2 separate regions of the Homo sapiens genome follow, and region 1 is linked to region 2. Evidence: promoter capture Hi-C in 16 types of primary human blood cells and fetal thymus (Javierre and others, 2016). All regions are on one chromosome and are shown on one strand. Each heading gives the region's core, a stretch centred on a gene start or on the middle of the fragment in contact. The rest is flanking DNA. Distances are from core to core; before and after follow the strand shown.

Region 1 (3,598 bases), core at 977-3,476, 140 kb before region 2:
AATGAACCTGAAAACCCATTTTCTACAGAATATACAGCAGCAGGGAAGCAAGGGGACCAGCAGACCCCTTTTTAAGTACGCATGTGATAAGCAATGAACACGAACTGCCCAGAGCAGTCTCCAACACTGACACGATTCGCTTCCCCACCACGACGCCCTAGCGCTACTGTGCAACGAAGACCTCCCAAGCACTGGTTCCAATGCGGAGACCATGGGCTCCCAGACTCTGGGAACTCCAACACGACTGCGAAACGAACTCCGAGCGAGGACTCCCCGAGAGCTCCCCGCAACACGGACCTCACGCGCTAGCGAACAACAGAAAAAAAAAAGCGCGCTCTCCCTGCCCCTGAAACATTCCCAGAAGCCCACGCAGACCAGACCGATGACCTGTCTCCACTGCTGGAGGCGAGTCAGGGACCCGAAGTCTCTAAACACTCGCCTCTACCCGCCGCCCCGCGAACCCCACACACTGCAGACGCGACACTCGCAAGTTTCGGGGATGGCGGCCGGCGAGGGCCATACTGCGTCTTTCCGGAGACACGGAATACGGCACCAGCCGTCCCTTTATGATGCAATATGTCTGCGCCCAGGGGACGCTTGCTGGGAGCAGCCATTTTCAACCCTACTGCCGTAGAGCAGGCGGAGTCCCTCTTTTCGCGCCTTAAGACAGGTAGGTTCTGACGATGAAAAGCAATTGAAAACGACCCATTTCACCCTTTTTCCAGTCCACGTGAACTGCTAGATCTTGGCTTTGCAACATTAGCCAGGGGCGCTACATAAACTGCTTAGTTTCTCAAAGGCTCAAGCCTGCCCTGATCTGTCTACAGGATGGGTAGAGATGGTCACAGACATTTAGGCACTTTGATCCTAAGAAGAATGGAAAGAAACCATGTGGCGCGGCAGTCTTACAGGAATTTCAAGAGGGAGGGACCTGAGCAACAATCGGAGGGGTTATTACTCCTGAGGATGCATCTGGCTGGAGAAAGCAGCCTTTGAGAACTGCCTAAGAAGTATCTTTACATCTACATCAGATGTAGCCTCAGAGGAAGGAGTCAGTCATAGAATGGATAAAACAACCGCGTGTTAAAGCTTTGGTTATAATTGGTGTGGAGAATGGAGAACACAGTTGATCAGCAGTTGACAAAGTGGGGAACCAACACGAAAACAGGGCTCTCTCACCCTGGAAAAGCCAAAGGCAGAACAAGCCTTTACATCCAGGAAGGTGGGAGCAACTTGAAATCAAAACTCTGAAGGGGAGATGATTCTGTTCAATACTGAAACTCAGCTGATCAATTAACTGATGAATTCTAGCACCAAACCTGCTCCCTATAATTTTATAACCAGCCTCAGAGAACCTTTAAAGGGATTGATCATTCACTCATTTATCCAGCGAATGTTTATAAAATGCCTAATGTGTCAAACACTGTTGTGCGTGCTGGGAATACAACAGTTGGAAATTCAGGCACAAAGACTCTCATTCATGGAGATTACATTCTACTGGCAATTTCAGTGTGTGAGCTAAATTGAGTGGTGCTAACTGTTGACTTGGCTGGTTGACTGAAACTTGGACTCAAAATTTGCCTACACTAAATGAAGTTTAAATGCCAGAAATTTCCTCATATATTATAAAGTACCCAAAGATAAATGGAGTTTGGAATGCTAGAATGAATTTATCATGTAAAATCAAGATTACCCATACCTCAAATATGTATTCCAGTAGCATCTAGAAGACAATCTCTTCACTGACACTGATCTGGTCACAGGAAATAGAGATATACTACTGTAAGATTATTTTATTATACAGTAAGTGATATAATGTCCTTGAAGTTAGAATGATAAGTTCATGATTTTCTTTCAGTCAGTTCAGGCTACTAGAAAAAATACACCATAGACTGACTGACTGCCTTAACAAACATTCATTTCTCACGTTCCAGAGGCTGAGGAGTCTCTAGAACTGGACTCTAAAACACAATCAAGGTGTTGGCAGGTCTAGTGTCCAGTGAGAGTCCATTTCCTGGTTTATGCATGGTCATCTCATTCTGTCTTCACATGGCAAAGAGCAGAGAAAGAGAAAACAAACTCTCTTCTGTGTTGTCTCATAAGACACATAATCTCATCATGAGGGTTCCACTTTCAAGATGTAATTACCTTCCAAAGGTCACACTTCCTAATGCCATCCCTTAGGGATTAGGACTTCAACATGTAAATTTGGAGAGGACATAAATATGCAATCCCTCACAATGATGTATGCTATAAAATCTCAAGGAATCAAATGACAAGGATTTACAGTTAATAAGCCAACAAAGGAGACAATATGTAATATAAACACACTCAGCTACTCTAAGGGAAAGCAGAAAAAGAAGAAAAGGAGAACAAAGAAGACATAGAATAAACAACAAATAGTAAGTTAGTAATTTAAACCTAAAAACATCAATACATTGAACGTAAATGATCTAAATACCCCAGTAAAAAGACAGAGATTGTTAACTGGATAAAAAAGGAAGGCCCAACTGTATGTTGCCCACTAAACACCCACTTTAAATATGAAAGCATAAATAGGTTAAAAGTAAAACCATGATAAATAAAGATATGAAAGATATAACAGGGAAAAACCCATGTCAAATTATTAGAGGTTAAAAATTACAATTTCTGAGAGAAAACATACTTTGGATGGGATTAATGACAGATTAAACACTGTGGAAAAAAGATTAGTGAACTGAAAGACATAGCTATGAGAACTATAAAAAATGAAATAATGAAGGGTAAAATAATAAAAAGCATGAACATCATTTTCATGTACATATGTGTATACACAAAAAGATTTGTGAACTTGAACAAGGCAAGAGATACAATCTAAACTACAAAGAGAACAAAAGCTAACCCCTACCTTGGCCCCCGGAGTAAGAGATATCATTCTGAGGAACACCAAGTGGAAGCCTCTAAAACTGCCCCCCTCCCCAGCCAAACTCTATGATCAAGATAGTAAATGAAAAACAATATTGTGGGAGGGGTAGTGAGGTTTATAAGATATAAAAAAGTAAAATATATTTCATATCTTGTAAACCCTACTATACATATTAGTGCAGGGAGCCAAAGGCCCATGGGACATGACAAACTCAGCATTCCGCTGGAGGCTATATGATCAAACAGCAAACTGTTTATCATGAATGCAGGATGTGGGCAAACTCACACTGCCCTGCCACCATTGCCACAGTTACCATATTAACAGGGCTTTTCCCCTGCACATGTTCACTAGGACTTAAGCTGTGACTTGCTGTGGAAGGATTTTCCACCTTCACTGAATCCCCCCGTTTCTCCCTTGAGTGTATTCTCTTATGTTTAACAAGGCAAGACATATAGAAGTAAGCTTTCTCACACTCATCACAGCCATAGGGTCTCTCTCCCGTGTGAGTTCTGTGATGTACAATGAGCATTGTCTTTGTAAGGAAGGCTTTCCCACAGTCACTGCATTTATAGGGTTTCTCTCCTGAGTGAATTTTCTGATGTCTAATGAGTCCTGACTTCTGTGAACAGGGTTGCCCACATTCAGGACATACAAAGGGAGTCTTTCCTGTATGATATCTCTGATGTGCTACAA
Region 2 (3,408 bases), core at 764-3,263:
GTGCTGTGTTGACTCAAGGTTTAATGGATTTAGGGCTGTGCAGGATGTGCTTTGTTAAAAACGTGCTTGAAGGCAGTATGCTTGGTAAAAGTCATCACCATTCTCTAATCTCAACTACCCAGAGACACAATACACTGCGGAAGGCCGCGGGGACCTCTGCCTAGGAAAACCAGGTATTGTCCAAGGTTTCTCCCCATATGATAGCCTGAGATATGGCCTCGTGGGAAGGGAAAGACCTGACCGTCCCCTACCCCGACACCTGTAAAGGGTCTCTGCTGAGGAGGATCAGTAAAAGAGGAAGGCCTCTTTGCGGTTGAGATAAGAGAAAGGCATCTGTCTCCTCCTCGTCCCTGGGAATGGAATGTCTCCGTGTAAAACCCCATTGTCTGTTCTATTTACTGAGATAGGAGAAAACCGCCTTAGGGCTGGAGGTGAGACATGCTGGTGGCAATACTGCTCTTTATTGTACCGAAATGTTTGTGTGCGTGCACATCAAGGCACAGCACGTTTCCTTAAACTTATTTATGACACAGAGACCTTTGTTCACATGTTTTCCTGCTGACCCTCTCCCCACTATTACCTTATTGTCCTGCCACATCCCCCTCTCCGAGGTGGTAGAGATAGTGATCAATAAATACTGAGGGAACTCAGAGACCAGTGCCAGCGTGGGTCCTCCGTATGCTGAGTGCTGGTCTCCTGGGCCCACTTTTCTTTCTCTATACTTTGTCTCTTATTTCTTTTCTCAGTCTCTCATCCCACCTGACAAGAAACACCCACAGGTTGTGGAGGGGTGGCCCCCTTCAAGGTGAATTCTCAGACAGATCAATTTTAGGAAAGAGAACACATGGAAGGCTCCAAGAATGTCTTTAAAAACCACGTGTGCCCATGTACTGGTTCGAAAGTCTCTGTAAGCTCTTTGGGTATACATACCTCGTGTCAAGACCAATGTACTAAGCAAATCACAAGAACTGTCTCATTTCACATTATGCGCTAAAGGAGTAACTTTACCCAAGAGAGCTTTGTCCTTTGCCCACAGTTCCTATGAGGCAAACTCTAAGCCTTTGGAATACGCTGCTTGATAAAACTGTCTTTGGTTATCAGGGCAATTTAAGCCATGCCAAATTGTCTATCCTAATAATGTGATTTACTGTGGGAGACCTTGGACCACGTGGTATTAGTTTGATATCTGGAGGAGCTGGAGATTGAAGTCAGCCTCATAGGCAGTCAATTGTGTGTGTGTGTGTTAACTGATATCCAATAAAACTCTGGACACCAAGGCCTAGGTGAGTGGCAACAATGGTTACAATGGCTGGCAATAATAATATAAGGGTGTATATATAAGAATATGATAATTTAAAAACGTATGAAGCAAAACAGAATGAGAGAGGATTAGACAATTCAACAATAATAATTGAAGACTACATTACCCTACTTGCAATAATAAAGAAAACAAATAGAAACTCAGCAAGGATACCGAAAACTTGAACAACATTATCAACCAACTAGACTTAACGAACATTTAACACTGCACTCAACAGCAGTAAAATAAACATTTTTTTCAAGAGCACATGTTATATTCTTCAGGAAAGATAATATCCCATGTGATAGCCTGAGATAGGGCCTCATGGGAAGGGAAAGACCTGACCGTCCCCCAGCCCAACACCCGTAAAGGGTGACTCACAAGGGCCCCAGACCCAGACAGAGTCGGACTCGTCGCTGATTTCCTCAGACTCTTCATCCCTACAGCCAAAGGACCCGTCATTAACGCCCCGCTTCCTCAGCGACTGCGTTCAAATACAGCCCCAATCAGGACGCTCCACGCACCATCGGTACACAGACCCACAGGCCGCGAGTCCATGCCCAGAACTCGACTCACCCGAGCCCGAACCTCTCCAGACACCACTGGCAGCGACAAAACGCCGCATCCACGTCCGAAAACGCTTCCTATTCAGACGCGCTCCTGCGCGGACTCCGGGAAGCTGAGCGGTAAAGACCGTGAAGCGAGGCGAGGACCACGGAGCCTGCCCGGGATCGCGAGTTCAGACTGCGGGCGCCGCTCTATGAGGTCACAGGGCTGCGCCCATCGCAGCGTTTCTGACAGGAGCGGCCATAATGGCTGTGGGAATCACTCTTAGTCACCTCAGTGCCTTTCTCTCTTCGTTGCAAGGGACACTCAAGAGTCGGGTGCCCAGCCAAGGCCAACACGGCGCAGTGGCATTCTATTCAGCCTGCTGTGGAAAAAAGATGGCGGCGCCCTTTGTGCCCATTATAGCTGAGAGTGGAGCCTTAGCTGGAGCACCATGGGCACGGCCATCTTAGAGGAAGGCAGCAGCCGTACGGCAGAGAAGATGCTCATATCCAGGACAATTTGGAAAAATAAACAAGGTTTGAAGAAGTCACGGTGCTGGCCAGGAAGCGGTCACAGAGTTGCCAAAACCAGTGGTCACTGAAAGTGTTAGATTTGGGGATAGGGCGGGGGTTCTGGGCTGGGTAAGGCTTTTGTGGGTTAGATTAGACTCTGACTGAATGGACGAAGCCGAGAACAGGAGTGATGCTCCATTAAATGCTAATACCCACATGGGGCTTGCTATTAAAACCACTGCCAGTGGGGAAGGGGATGAGGAGGTGAAGGTGCAACTGTGTTAATATCTACATGTTTCCTTCCAGAAGTAAAGGAAGATGACAGTGGGGCACTTAAGAATATGAAATTATTAGAATGCGATCATCCTACTTTGCAATGTTTCCAGATTTTTTAAAAAGTCACACTTAAAAAATATTAGTTCTATTTTTGCAGATGTTGGCGTTGTAACTGTAGAAGATTTAAGTAAATATTGTATTTTTGGAAGGCAACCTAGAGCCAATTTAATTTTTTCGTTTTCTTTGACACAGCAATTCTAAAAGCTATCTAGGCAAATCTGTCTTAATATTAACCACAACTTTTGTAATTTACAAAAAAAGGGAATTACAATGAGAGATGAATACTTTGGTAAATTATGGAACATCTGCTGAACTGTAAGAGTATATATCAATTTAAAAGAATATGCTACAATTGTTTTATAAAAAAGAAAACTTTGTCAGAGGACAAAAAAATGATCTGCAGGATAGTATATATTTTATGGTCTTGTTATTGGAAGAAATCATAAACATCTTTTGGAAAATTGTGATTGGTTAAACAAGACATTTAGTTTGAATTAATATTGTTTGTGTTCATAGGTAGAGAATGCCATGTTTTTACTTGAAAAATATTCCCAATTTATACTTAATTTTACTATCTTTGTACCATAATCATGAATATATTATAAAACATGTTGATCTTAGAAAATAGGTATGATGATGTATAATAAGTTCATGGCATGATAAATGCAAAATAGGCTGTTTTCTTTCAGAAAATAAATATGCTCATGCATT

What was found. Contacts are between HindIII fragments. The CHiCAGO score rates a contact against its expected background, and 5 or more counts as called.
Region 1: a contact is called between a fragment that was not itself captured here and the fragment with the promoter of ZNF614 in region 2, in 1 of 17 cell types (fetal thymus). The highest score is 5.8, in fetal thymus.

Annotation. Positions count from the first base shown.
Region 1 is chr19:51,887,457-51,891,054 of GRCh38, forward strand. ZNF649 (zinc finger protein 649) reads right to left here. Exons shown (of 5, transcript NM_023074.4): 5 at 1,779-3,598. The coding sequence ends at 3,162. It overlaps ZNF649-AS1 (ZNF649 antisense RNA 1), which reads left to right and starts at 569. Exons shown (of 3, transcript NR_110733.1): 1 at 569-670. ZNF577 (zinc finger protein 577) reads right to left here and starts at 495. Exons shown (of 6, transcript NM_001370449.1): 1 at 1-495. RefSeq lists an enhancer at 1-619. The HindIII fragment of the contact is 2,278 bases long and covers 1,088-3,365 here.
Region 2 is chr19:52,026,366-52,029,773 of GRCh38, forward strand. It overlaps ZNF614 (zinc finger protein 614), which reads right to left and starts at 2,014. Exons shown (of 5, transcript NM_025040.4): 1 at 1,877-2,014. It overlaps LOC112268244 (a long non-coding RNA gene), which reads left to right and starts at 34. Exons shown (of 2, transcript XR_002958414.2): 1 at 34-173; 2 at 747-3,408. RefSeq lists enhancers at 501-1,271, 1,742-2,501. The HindIII fragment of the contact is 7,426 bases long and covers 1-3,408 here.